Regions from separate parts of the Homo sapiens genome. Here regions 1 and 2 are each linked to region 3. Evidence: promoter capture Hi-C in 16 types of primary human blood cells and fetal thymus (Javierre and others, 2016). All regions are on one chromosome and are shown on one strand. The core of a region is centred on a gene start or on the middle of the fragment in contact, and the rest is flanking DNA. Distances in the headings are between cores, read along the strand shown. Region 1 overlaps ADCY8 (adenylate cyclase 8). Region 2 overlaps IADEN (IGF2BP1 associated definitive endoderm lncRNA). Region 3 holds the start of EFR3A (EFR3 homolog A).

Region 1 (4,430 bases), core at 227-2,726, 880 kb before region 3:
CCTCTGAAATGAGCATAGTTATTGAGATAAAGTGGCCTTAAAGAAGCATCAAATCTAGAGGGCAGCTTTGGAATCAGATAGCTGTGGATGAAATCTCGTATTCATCATATGACCAAAGGGAAATGCTGTAACAACTCTGTGTTCAGCATCCTCAACTATAAAAAGGGAAACAGCAATACTGATGCGAATATGATTGTTCAGGCATTTACTCAACAAGCTTCTGATATGAGATTCCCGCGTGATGTGCCAGTGTCCATTCCGGTGATATACAAAAGGACAGACCCTGCTCTCAAAGAGCACGTTGTTTAACAGTAGAGACAAATAAATAAAACATAATTCCAATCTTACCTGCTAACATGAATTCTTCCTGTAGATATTAAGAATAATTTCCTCATCTCAGGTCTAGTCAGGATTTTCCTTTTAAATAGAAATGAGTGCAAGCTGAATGCCTAGAGCACACAATTTCAGGAATTATTCCTTCGCAGGGTTGCACAAGTGCAGGGTCAGCCCCTGAGAACAAGTGCTTCTTGTAAGCTTTGTACCCTGGATGCCTCACTTTTCTCAACTAATCATGGCCCCACATCAAACCTGCTTTAAAAGTCCTTAACTCAGTTTGAAATCATTCACTTATTTAGGTGATTATTTGATGGATGACTGTCTATAACTCTAGATTATAATCTCTTTAATAGCAGGATCCTGGATTCTTTTCCTCACCACAGCACCCCTACTGCCTGCATGCAGCACACTGTGGTACTCCATAAATATTCGCCATATGAGGCTAAATGAAAGCATGCATTAATGAATGATGGAAGAATGTTGCTATGGTCTGAATGTTTGTGTCCCTCCAAAATACACATGTTAAAATGCTAACCCTAAGGTGATGGAATTAAGAGGTGGGAGGTGAATGTGTCATGAGGGTGGAGCCTTCATGAATGGGATTAGTGTCTAGAAAAAAGGCCTCAGAGAGCTGCCTTGTCTCTTTCATCCTGCAAGGACACAGTCGGAAGATGGCCATGTGAACCAGGAAGCAGGCCCTCACCAGGCACCAAATCTACTGGTGCTTAGATTTTGAGCTTCCCAGCCTCCAGAACTATGAGAAATAAATGTTTTTTTTTGTTTGTTTGTTACAAGTCAGTCAGTTATGGTATATTGCTATGGAAGCCTGAATGTTCAATAATATAAGTGAATTAGAGGACAGGGATCTAAATCTACCTGGTGGAGTAGCAGGGACCCACTGAAGAGAAGGTGGGGTCTGTGCCAAACTCCAAAGCCTTTCCCACAAATTATGATCTGCAGACTGCAAGCATCCATTACCTGGCAACTTGTCAGAAACACAGAACCTAGGGTCCTCCTCCTAAATCCAAATTTTGTCAAGATCTCCAAGTGATTCCTATTCACATTAAAGTTGGAGAAGCACTGGTCTAAAAGATGCAGGGGTTAAGCCAGGTGAAGCCCAGAAACTGTCAGCTTAGGGCAGAGAACTCATTGAAAAAGGGTGATTGTTTTAAAACTTAAATTATAAAATCAAATGAAATGTATTACCTGATTCCTCTTTACCAGGTTCTGATTTAAATACTCCATGTGTATTATTTCATCTCTTCAACAACCTCCTGAGCTATTATTATTATTCCCATTTTACAGCTGAAGAAAGTGAGGTGCAGAAAGATTGAGGCTCTTGTCAGTGTTATAAAATGAAAAAATTGCAGATCAATCCCAGGCAGTCTGAATCCACATCCTGTGCTATGAACTCTATGCTTTTTTCTTTCCTTGGGAAGTGTGTTAAGTTTGGCATATAGCAATCTCCAATACAGTTCTGTCTCATTGAGAGTCATGCTTGAAGGACTGCTCATTTTTTTGTCAAATTCTGCTTATCTCTCTGCCCCTCCTTTCCTTAAACACCTAACATGAGCTTAGATTATCAAAGTCAAACAAACACAATTCTCCATTTAAACACACCCCACTTATTCTTAAGCAGGTACTTGTCCCGGAGAAGGGGTACAGAAGGAATTCCAGGAAGTGGTGACACTTGAATATTGCCAGGCAAGGAAGGTAAACAATTGTCCTAGAAAACACACACAGGCAGAAGCCAGCATGGAATATGAAGAAAACTGGTGATGAGGTTCAACAGTAGAACTTACCCAGTGAAGTGAAGTGGTGAGAATGCTAGCATATGGGAGAAGCTCCCACTGGGGAGTGTTGGGGTGGTTCAGCGGAGCATGGGGTGGCTTGATGAATCTTGGGGGTGGGGCTGCACTAGAACAGAAAGAGCAGGATAGAGAGCTGTGGACAGACCCCAGCAATGGAAGACTAAACCATCAGAATTTCATGTAGATATCAGACGGGATGGAGTCAATTGTTACTTGTTGGGGTTGGGCTGCCTCAATGGAGGTATCCAGTAGGTCTCCAGATTGCCAGGTCTTAAGCTTAGCAGATAAAACTGGGGTAGAGATACAGGGTTAGGAGTTAGCAGCACAAAGATACATACTTGCTGACTGAGGGAGGGATTTGATTATCCAGGGAGTGGTGTGGAGTGAGATAATGTGAAGTCATATAGGACGGAAACTTCAGGAGCCCCAACATTGAAGAGGTGAATTGAAAAACAAGACCTGGAGGAACCTGAGAAAGAAGAGTATGTAACCAGCACTACACTATGCTGTAGAGACTTAACAGTGACCCAGATGCCACCCCAGACTTTGTGAAGCTCACAGCCCAGCTGGTGAGAGAGATGTGGAAGCCAATAGCACTGCAAAATGAGGCAGGATAAATGGGCAGGTAAAGGGCCATGCCCTCAGAGGAGGAATATCTAACTGGGTCAGGAGTGTTGAACTATCCTTCTTTTAGACATGAAGAAATTTTGGCCCAAAGAAGCTGAAGCCAAAGTTGCTGTGAAAAACCCATAGCAAAAACAGGAGGAGAATTTGTGTTTTCTATGTTTTTAAGGAAATATACTTACATGGTTTCAAAAATATCTTTCATTGTCCATTGGCACAGCTTCTCTCTGGCTGAGATGGCTTGGGCAGGGCCCAAAGAGCTGCGTATCATGTCATAATTCACCTGGCAAGAGCCAAGGGCAATATATCTCTCATAAATAGAAAAGAGGAGACTTTGTAGTCACTGCACATTGACCACTTGGGGCCATGAACTCATTCTCAAATGAACTACCCGCCTCCAATAGGCTGGGAAGGCTCACCCGATGAATGAGGGTGTGGGAGATTTGACTTTAGAAGAAAACCAGCTTGCTCTTAGTGATTTTTTTTCTTGAACTAATTAGCAGAAAAAAAAAAAGAACTAAAAAGACTCATGACCGTTTTTGGGACTTTATAAAGACAGTTTTAGTTAATTGCTTTGAGTTCCATTCTCTAAAATCTGACTTTGGTTTGCTTTTTAGAAGTCTGTAGATAAACTGGTCCAGTTAGGGTACAATATGGTCTTTATGTGACAGGTTTTAAGCTGTAGGAAACAGTGGACTAAGCACCTATCCATTTTTTACGCTTAGGAAAGTCAACCTGCTTTGTCCGATATCTTCCCCTAAGGAGTGAGGCCTACCAGCCCCTCGGGTATGGAGTACCAGGAGTCAAGTGGAAGTGTGGGAGTACCTCCTGCCCCCAGCTGTACCTGTATGTACCCAGATGGTGAGCACCCACCAGAAGGGGGCACCACTGAGACGTCAAGCCCAGGAAGTGATTTCCAGTGTGCTTGCACAGCAGGTTGTGGGTTGCACAGCAGCAAGTGAGAGGCAGGGCAAATGAGTGAAGCTGCATCTGTATTTACAGCCACTCCCCATCGCTTGCATTACCGCCTGAGCTCTGCCTCCTGTCAGATCAGTTGCCAGTGGTGGCATTAGATTCTCATAGGAGTTCAAACCCTATTGTGAACTGCACATGCGCGAGATCTAGACTGCAAGCTCCTTATGAGAATGTGATGCTTGATGATCTGTCACTGTCTCCCATCATCCCCAGATGGGACCATCTAGCTGCAGGAAAACATTATGGTGTGACTTGTACAATAATTTCATTATATATTACAACGTAATAATAACAGAGATAAAATACACATAAATGTAAAGCTCTTGGATCCTCCCAAAATCATCCCCCACCCATGTCTGTGGAAAAATTATCTTCCATGAAACCATTCCTTGGTGCCAAAAAGGTTGGGGACTGCAGCTATAAAAGCAAAGAACTCCAGAGCTGGGTATAGAGATTCAGAGCCAGGATGCTGAAGAACAAAGAGGGAAGAGAACAAGAGGGTGATGTATTTGCTAGCAATTGGACTCTATTTTGAGTAGATGGGCCTGATCCATTTAAAGTGTTTGATAATCGACAAATACCCATGAATAATTCAGGCCCATAACTTTTGTCTTAACTTAAATGATCTGGATAATTACTTGAATTTTTCTTCACGTTATCTAATATGTACATGTATATGAATAT
Region 2 (4,371 bases), core at 533-3,032, 590 kb before region 3:
GGTCTAACGTTTATAAACACTGTGCATAGCATTGAACCATGAAGTTAACATTTATTAATCAATTTTGAGGCCTTAGTGTATTTCATAGTTTAAATTGGTGTTCTGATCAAAAGAAAATAAGAAAATGGTGGAACAAAAGTTTTAGAAAAAAAGGGTAGGGAAAGAGGAAAGAAGGAAGTAACAAAATGAAGATTCCTAGCCCTATAGCAACAAATATCTAGCAGGTGCTGAATGGTTGTTTTTCGTTTTTTGTTTTTTTTTTGTTTTTTTGTTTTTTTGTTTTTTTCAGAAAAGTAATGGAATGCTACAGCCTAGTCAGTTTTGAGAAAAGGCTAACCAACAACAACAACAACAAATCATAGTCATGCTCAGATTGCACATGAACAAAAAAATGTTGGAGAGAAACCATTGAAATAACTCACCGGTCCTCTTGTGTTGCTGCTTATCTGATTATCTGAGGTCAAGGGAACTGAGGACAACAAAGGAAATTAGGTCTTTCATAGTTCTCATTAAATGCTGGAGGAGTCTGACTACTGCTGAGCTGAGCACTTCAGCGGCTTTGGAAAAGGAAGTGTGGTTACTTATTTCACCACCTTCATTGTGCTGGAGGAAATAAGAAATAGCTCTGAGACTAATAATAACAGAAACGGCATCCACAGCAGCAGAGCCCAGTTGCACTTCCTAAAGGCAGTATAAATAATTAAGTGTCTCTATAGGCAAGCCACTAGGAATAAACGAAAAAGAGCTGCAATTGCTGATGTGGTTTCACCCCAGTCCTGCCCATGTTTCTTAACAGGAAAGGGAGTTGCAATGCCAATAATAAAATCTTAGAGCTGGAAAGAACATTTATTTGCCTGTTTATTCATTCATTTACTCAGTCATTATTGGGCACTTACGGTAGACTAGTCGTTATGTTACCTACTAGGAGCTTGGATATCACCCACTTTTATGTCTTCATTCTTTGAGCGAAGAGCTATCTACATGGTGAGTCCAAAAGTGCACAAGAGGAAACCTGGCTTGTCCAAACCAAGGGCTATAACTTAGTTTCCTAACTGCCCAGCAAAAATATTTTCAGTTAGGCTCCACTTTAACTCTTAAAAATGTGGCTTGTGAATTACTTGATGAATAATTTTACTTTCTTGATTATATTAAGCACAAAAAGGAAGAGAAACACAATTACAATATTAAAATTGTGAAAGGCATCTCACCAAGGTGCTTCTTCTGAGAACTCCATGTCTCCATTGCTTATCTGAAACCTTTATTTTGCTTGGCCTCTGGGTCCCACTGCCTCTGGATTTACTTCTCACCTGCTGACTGCTCCTTCTTTTTTACTTTTTCTGTGTGCTCTCCATCTTCCTGACCTCTTTAATTTGAATGTCCTGGGACTCAGCCCTTTGGCTTCTCTTTGCAATCAGTGCACACACTCTAGATTTACCCATCCAATGCCACAGCCTTAAATAACATCAATATTCTTCTGATGGCTCTCAAAGTAATATATTTTGCTCTGACGTCCCTCTTTAATTCTACATGTATATCAGACTGTCTGTCTATTTGGCAGCCCCAGTGTGATGTTCCTCTAGAATCACTACCTTAACATATGTGAAACAAACTCTTTTCACCCCACCCCTCACCAAAAAAATCTATTTTTTATATACGTATCCATTCAAGAAAAGGAAACCTTCTTTCATTTGCTCGGGTAAAACACTCTGAGTAACCGGTTCCTCTAATTTCTCTATTTCCCATATTCAGTCCATGAGCAAATTTTACAACTGTTAACTTTGAAATAATACACACAGCATCCAATCACTTATCTAAACTCTGTCGCTGCCGCTCGGGTCTAAGCACCATCATGTCTCACCTGGATTATTGTGACAGTCTTCTTAATGGGTTTTCTGCATTTCCTTTTTGCTCCACTGTAGTCTATGCTTCTCAGAGCAGCCTAAGTCAATCCTCTGCTCAAAATGCTCCAATGCACACTGCACTCTATCAAAGCTCTAACTATTGCTAAAATGACCCATTGTCTCCTTTATTCCTGCTACCTCTCAAGTCACATGCCCTATCCCCTATGCCTCCTCCAACTGTCCCTCTGACGCAGCTATCGAGTACCTTGCTGTTCCTCAAACACAGTAAGCACACCCTATCTTAGGGTGTTTGCATTATCTATGCAAAAACACTGCATGGTGTGCTTTTTTTTGCTATGCACCCGCATGGTTTATCTTCACAGAGATCTTGGCTAACACTAGCACCTTTTCATTCTATGGTCCTTTCCTCTGCTTTATTTTTCTCTTTGCACCTTTCACCGTCTGATCCATACTTTTTGATTGTTTTCCCCTCAAGGACATAAGCACCATGACAATAGGAATGTCACTTTATTTATTTATGTCTCCTTCTACGTAAGTGCATTGGCCCCAGAAATCTAGACCTCTAATTATAAAGAGGCCATTTTTTTTTCCTCCAGCTTCAAAATAATTGCACTTCAAAATTGTAATACTTTGTGAACAAAGGAAAAAGATTTAAAATTATGGGTCTAGGGTCAAGGCAATGGTGGAAGATAAAAAGGAAAGATGTTACATTCCTTGGGGGACAAGGTTGGTCTTGAAGAAGAAAGAAAACAATGAGGATGTTGAATGAAGTAAAAAACAATGTTGGCCAGGCGCGGCGACTCACGCCTGTAATCCCAGCACTTTGGGAGGCAAAGGCGGGTGGATCACAAGGTCAGGAGTTTGAGACCAGCCTGGCCAACATAGTGAAACCTCGTCTCTACTGAAAATACAAAAATTAGCCGGGCATGGTGGTGCACGCCTATAGTCCCAGCTACTCTAGGGGCTGAGCCAGGAGAATCGCTTGAACCCAGGAGGCGGAGGTTGTGGTGAGCTGAGATCACGCCACCTCATTCCAGCCTGAGCAGCCAACCGAGACCCCATCTCAAAAAAAAAAAAAAAAAAAAATAATATATATATATATATATATATATATATATATATATATATATATATATATATGTATATGAAAAGAGGACAATATTCCAAAATAAATGTTAATATAATTATTTCCATGAGGCAGTAATTGGAATAATCAAGGGAAATGACTCACAATGAAGGCAGTCATGCCTGTTTGAAGTGGATCTAAGAGTAGAAACAGCAAGCAGGGTGTCTATTTGGGTAATGAGAAGGGAGAAAGTGTTGGTAAACAGAAGGAAGAAAGCTACTAATTTTCCCAGAGTCTGTTTAAGATGAAGTTCTGCTCCAATCAGCTAATTTTAAGAGGTTTTAGATTAATCTTGTTAAACATTTCAGCATGATGGAGTTTGGGATTATTTGATGTAAATAGTTCTTACACAAAATGTAAATGTTATCTTAATAAATATTTTTAAAAAAGGATTTGAGAAAATTCAACAACTATTTCTAATAAAACAAATAAGCATATAATCATTAAAAAATTAAAAAACAATTTTATTTTAAAATATTTTTATTTTAACATTCTTATCAAACTTTAAAAAAAATGTCAGACACCATGGCTCATGCTTGTAATCCCAACTATTTGAGAGGCTGATCAAGGCGTTTGAGGCTGCAGTAAGCTATGATGGGACCACTGCACTCTAGCCTGAGCAACATCATGAGACTCCATCTCTTAAAAAAATAAATGGAAATGACAAGGATAATTGGTTTACCACTTTTGATAAAATTCCCTGGGAATTTGCTTCTAATGACATTAAGTATACTAGAGTTACTCCTATTTGAAGGCATAATACAAAATTATTATTTTTTATAGGCAACGTGTTGGGAAAACTCGAGTCATCTGAAAACTATTAGAACCAACAAAAAATATTCAAGGCAGTAGCTTTGTAAAGAATAATTACCCAGTTCATTTTCTACACTTCAGCTATAACAAGATAAAAAATTTATTAATAAAACTTAATTCTCATAACGATAAAACTGATTTAAAAGAATACATAGTAATGCATTTACCAAAAAATTGTTTAGGAATTATATGGGGAAAATTTTCCTAATTGAATACCCTTTAATTCCTTCTCCTGCCTGATTGCCTTGGCCAGAACTTCCAACACTATTTTGAATAGGAGTGGTGAGAGAGGGCATCCCTGTCTTGTGCCAGTTTTCAAAAGGAATGCTTCCAGTTTTTGCCCATTCAGTATGATATTGGCTGTGGGTTTGTCACAGACAGCTCTTATAATTTTGAGATACGTCCCATCAATACCTAATTTATTAAGAGTTTTTAGCATGAAGAGTTGTTGAATTTTGTCAAAGGCCTCTTCTGCATCTACTGAGATAATCATATGATTTTTGTCGCTGGTTCTGTTTATATGCTGGATTACATTTATTGATTTGCATATGTTGAACCAGCCTTGCATCC
Region 3 (3,950 bases), core at 1,366-3,865:
TTTTTCCTGACATTCAGCTGTCCTTCCTCAGAATCTTTGGCTGCTGATTTTTATTTCTGGCAACAATACAAAACCAAAAGACCAAGAGGATTAAAAACAGAAAGAAATGAAAAACAAACAAACAAAAAAACAACCAGTATGTGCAGGACAATTTCAGGGCCTTTGGGATCTGCATCTTTTTCAAGGTAATGTAAGCAGAGATGTCTGCCTTTTGGAGTCATGTCTTCCCTTGGCTCCTGGGGCACTGTATCCTGTGGATCTCGTCTCTCTGTGCCTTCACTGCCTCCACATCTTCCCTAAAAGGGCTCTCTTTGACACCCAGCTTCAGCTCCTGTCCCGGGACCAAAGATTTCCAAATCTCCCACCCTGAGGTCCCTCAGCCCACCTTCATCCTGGCTTGCCCAGCTGCCTTCAGATTCATTCACTCGGATGTCTCCCTCTGATACCACCTCAAGCTCAATATGTCAAGGAGAAACTCACACCTTTCTTCACACCCCTTCCCTAAAACAGCATTTCTTCCTGACTGGTCTACTGCTCTCCAGCACCACCACTTTCCTTGTTCCAACCTTGGAGTTACATAACTAACAGATGCCTCTCTATTGCTCCCAAGTCAGCAGCCAACAAATCCAGGGATTCTTTTCCAAAGTAAGATTCAGTTCTTTCTTTTTCCACAGCCACCACCAAGACTGAGCACCTAACACTCTCTCCTGTATTGGGGCCTTCCGATTTGGCTGCCTACCTCCACAGTTTCTCTGCCACACCATTCCCCCTGCAAGGCCCTGCTTCTGATAATTTAATGTTACTGTTATGCTTTTTGTAAAAATCACAGAACAGTTTCTTAAAAGACAAATTCCAAGGTTGAATGTAAAGTTGTTTATCAGTTTTATTTACCTGTTTTTGTTTTCATACTCTTGAATAAAATCCTTTATTTATATATTGAATTAATATACTCTGGCCCCCACCTGTGTGCCAGCCAAGGATACATAAACATGAACAGAATATGGCTTTTGCCATTTTCTGAAAAGCAAATAGGCCCATGGTAAAACACAAGCACTCATGACAGTTTATTTAGGATGCAGTGAGAAAAGTGCTGTAGCAGAGAGGAATCAAGATAATGCCAAAGTCTTAGGGAGAAAACTGGAAGCATGAAAGATTTTATAGGTGATAAAATATGCAACAGGGCATTAAAACATGAATAAGCACTAGGTAGTTTGGTCTTTACTGTTAGCAAGGGACAGTCTCTCTTTTTTTTTTTTTTTTTTTGAGATGGAGTCTTGCTCTGTAGCCCAGGCTAGAGTCCAGTGGCCCGATCTCGGCTCACTGCAAACTCCGTCTCCTGGGTTCAAGCGATTCTCCTTCCTCAGCTTCCCAAGTAGCTGAGTGAGAATATAGGCATGTGCCACCACCCCCGCCTAATTTTTGCATTTTCAGTACAGACAGGGTTTCGCCATGTTGGCCAGGCTGATCTCGAACTCCTGACCTCAGGTGATCTGCCCACCGCCCACCTCGGTCTCCCAAAGTGTTAGGATTACAGGCGTGAGCCACCGTTCCCAGCTGGACAGTCTCTTTTATAGGTACAGTACACACTCTCCTCTCCCCAGCTGCCATGACTCACTCTAAATTACCCTTCATCCTCTCCCCAGCCTCTTTTAGGACTCCCCTAGGCTTTGCTAATTCAAATTCTGCTTTCTTCCAAGTCCACCTCAAGCCAAGACTAATTTCTCCTCAGCGCTTCCTAGCTCTGATCTTCATGTTCTTCATCTTCTCCTCCCAGTACTGCACAATATCATTTCTTAATCAGAAGGTTAGCCCTACTTTTTAGGACAAAGGTTCTCAGTATTATCATTGTATTTAAATCATCTGTATATGTGTTCGTAGATTTGGCTCAGCACCTAGGAATCTGCTTTTCAACAAGTCCCCAGGGGATCCAAGCACAAAAGGATCCTGGACCACTTTGACCCACTTTGAGGAAGGCTGTGTTAAACCTCTGCGGTTGGCTTTTATATCTCCATATGGGCTGTCCGCAGCCCACGGCGCCTAGCATAGTGTAGGTGCGTTGCTCAGCTCTCTGGCTCCCGGTGTCTGCTCAGCTTGGTGACTATTAGATACCTCAATTATTAATGACACCCAGAGTCAAGAAGAGTAGCTCAGCCAAGTGCACAGAGCTGCCCTCTCCAGAGGAGACTAACTCCTGAGGGATAAGGTCGCTCTGAAAGTCACAAGAGCAAAAGGAAATTACATTTTCTGCCCTCTCAAAAAATGAGCAGCCATCACCCCAAATGACCTTAGTGCATCTCAAATAAACCATGCTTTCAGAGTATGCAAAACGCACTGCAAGTTAAACCGATTGCAAAAGAAAAAGCCCACAGGTACTCCGTGCGCTCAAAGCCATCATCCTCACAAACGTAAAGTGATGCACTCCAAATAGAGATCAAGGAAAACGAATGCCACGCAGGTCACCAGGCTTGGAAAATAGAAGGCACCCGAAGTTGTTCTACGTGGCTGTCCCCAGCCACCCATTCCACCCGCTCGACAAGGGATCCTGGGCCGAGCCCGGCCATCCGCGGGGGCGGGGCCGGGACGGCGGCGGCGCGCTGACGTAACGGGCGTGGGTCGTCCGTCGCGCCGCCCGGCGAGGAGTGGGCTGGCGGCGGTAGCTGTCGCCCGCTTGGTTGCGTGACCGCGGGGTCCGCGTCCGCTCCCTCCACCCTTCGCCCTTCGCCCTTCGCCTCGTTCCGGCCTCCGCGGCCCAGCAACGGCCGTCATGGTGCCGTCGGCGCTCCCTGCGCGGCCCCGCTGAGCCTCGGTGCGGCGGCGAGCGCGGTCGAGATCGCCATGCCTACCCGTGAGTGGCCGGCCGAGGGCCGGGGGCGTTGGGAGGCGACTGCCTGCGCGACGCGCTTGGGCCGGGTACTCCTCCCGGGCGGCTGGGGAGGCTGGGCCGCGCTGAGCAGAGCCAGGAAGTGTCTGCGAGCGGCGGAGTTAGTTTCGTTTCGGCTTAGCCTTCCGGAGATGGCGTGAGCCCGTTGCACGGATCGGGAAACTGAGGCCCGAACGTTAAGGGAACTGCGGGGACGCGCTGTTAGGAGGCGGCAGAGCTGGTGGTAACCTGACCCGTGGGATTTCAAAGTTAAAGCCCTTTTCCCACGGCCACACGGCTTCGTGGGACTTTATGGAAATATTGAAAATAACTGCGGTACCATTGTCAGTCCCTTCTCACCTCGGGCCGGACGTCGCTAGTGGACGCGCCGGCCCCGAGTCCCTTCCCGCGGCCGCCAGACAGACCCCCGACAGCCTAACTCGGCGTCCGTATCGCCGTCGGGGCGGCTGAAGTCGGAGCTTTCTGTGGAGCTTGTTAGGCAGAGGCACCTCGACTGTGGCTTTTGGACCACACTTCGGATTCACCCGGGCAGATGATTAAAAATGCCGGTTTCGGGACCCGCCCTATTCCCATGGAATTAGTCTGGAGCTTGGGCCCCGGAGTCTGCATGTCTAATAAGCGTCCCTGGGGTTACCAAGGCACCCCAAAGTTTAAAAGTCACTCGGTGTTGGAGGATTTTTAGACAGACGCGATACTACAAGTACTGCTAATGACCTATTTTAAAATGACCCAGATAATCGCAGTGTGACTTTATAGCCACTGGTCAATGTGGATATGTGCAAACTAGGGAAGCTCCTGATCTTGGGTAGAGAGGAAGCAACTTTGTCATTGATTTGAGAATTCAAGTAGGACTCCTTTGACTAAGTGTTCAATACTATAGAATCTTTACACACTTGTGAATATATTTCCTAGAATTCATAACTACTTCTAGTTGTCCTTGTTTTGTAGCCATCTGGGACGCTGAATTTCCAGGTCAGTCTCCAATGCACGTTTCGTCTAGTGGTGGGAAAAGATGAGTTATTTCTTGATATTATAAAGATTGATATTTTCCTGATATTTAAGGATATTA

What was found. Contacts are between HindIII fragments. The CHiCAGO score rates a contact against its expected background, and 5 or more counts as called.
Region 1: a contact is called between a fragment that was not itself captured here and the fragment with the promoter of EFR3A in region 3, in 1 of 17 cell types (M0 macrophages). The highest score is 5.6, in M0 macrophages.
Region 2: a fragment that was not itself captured here is called in contact with the fragment with the promoter of EFR3A in region 3 in 1 of 17 cell types (monocytes); the score reaches 7.3 in monocytes.

Annotation. Positions count from the first base shown.
Region 1 is chr8:131,025,275-131,029,704 of GRCh38, forward strand. All of the region lies in intron 1 of ADCY8 (adenylate cyclase 8), which reads right to left. Among named protein-coding and RNA genes, the nearest start is that of ADCY8, 13 kb to the right of the region's middle. The HindIII fragment of the contact is 1,889 bases long and covers 533-2,421 here.
Region 2 is chr8:131,317,045-131,321,415 of GRCh38, forward strand. IADEN (IGF2BP1 associated definitive endoderm lncRNA) reads left to right here. Exons shown (of 2, transcript XR_007061185.1): 2 at 290-843. Among named protein-coding and RNA genes, the nearest start is that of IADEN, 6.8 kb to the left of the region's middle. The HindIII fragment of the contact is 5,241 bases long and covers 1-4,371 here.
Region 3 is chr8:131,901,478-131,905,427 of GRCh38, forward strand. EFR3A (EFR3 homolog A) reads left to right here and starts at 2,616. Exons shown (of 23, transcript NM_015137.6): 1 at 2,616-2,845. The coding sequence starts at 2,836. RefSeq lists a silencer at 2,513-2,992 and an enhancer at 3,563-3,612. The HindIII fragment of the contact is 8,534 bases long and covers 1-3,950 here.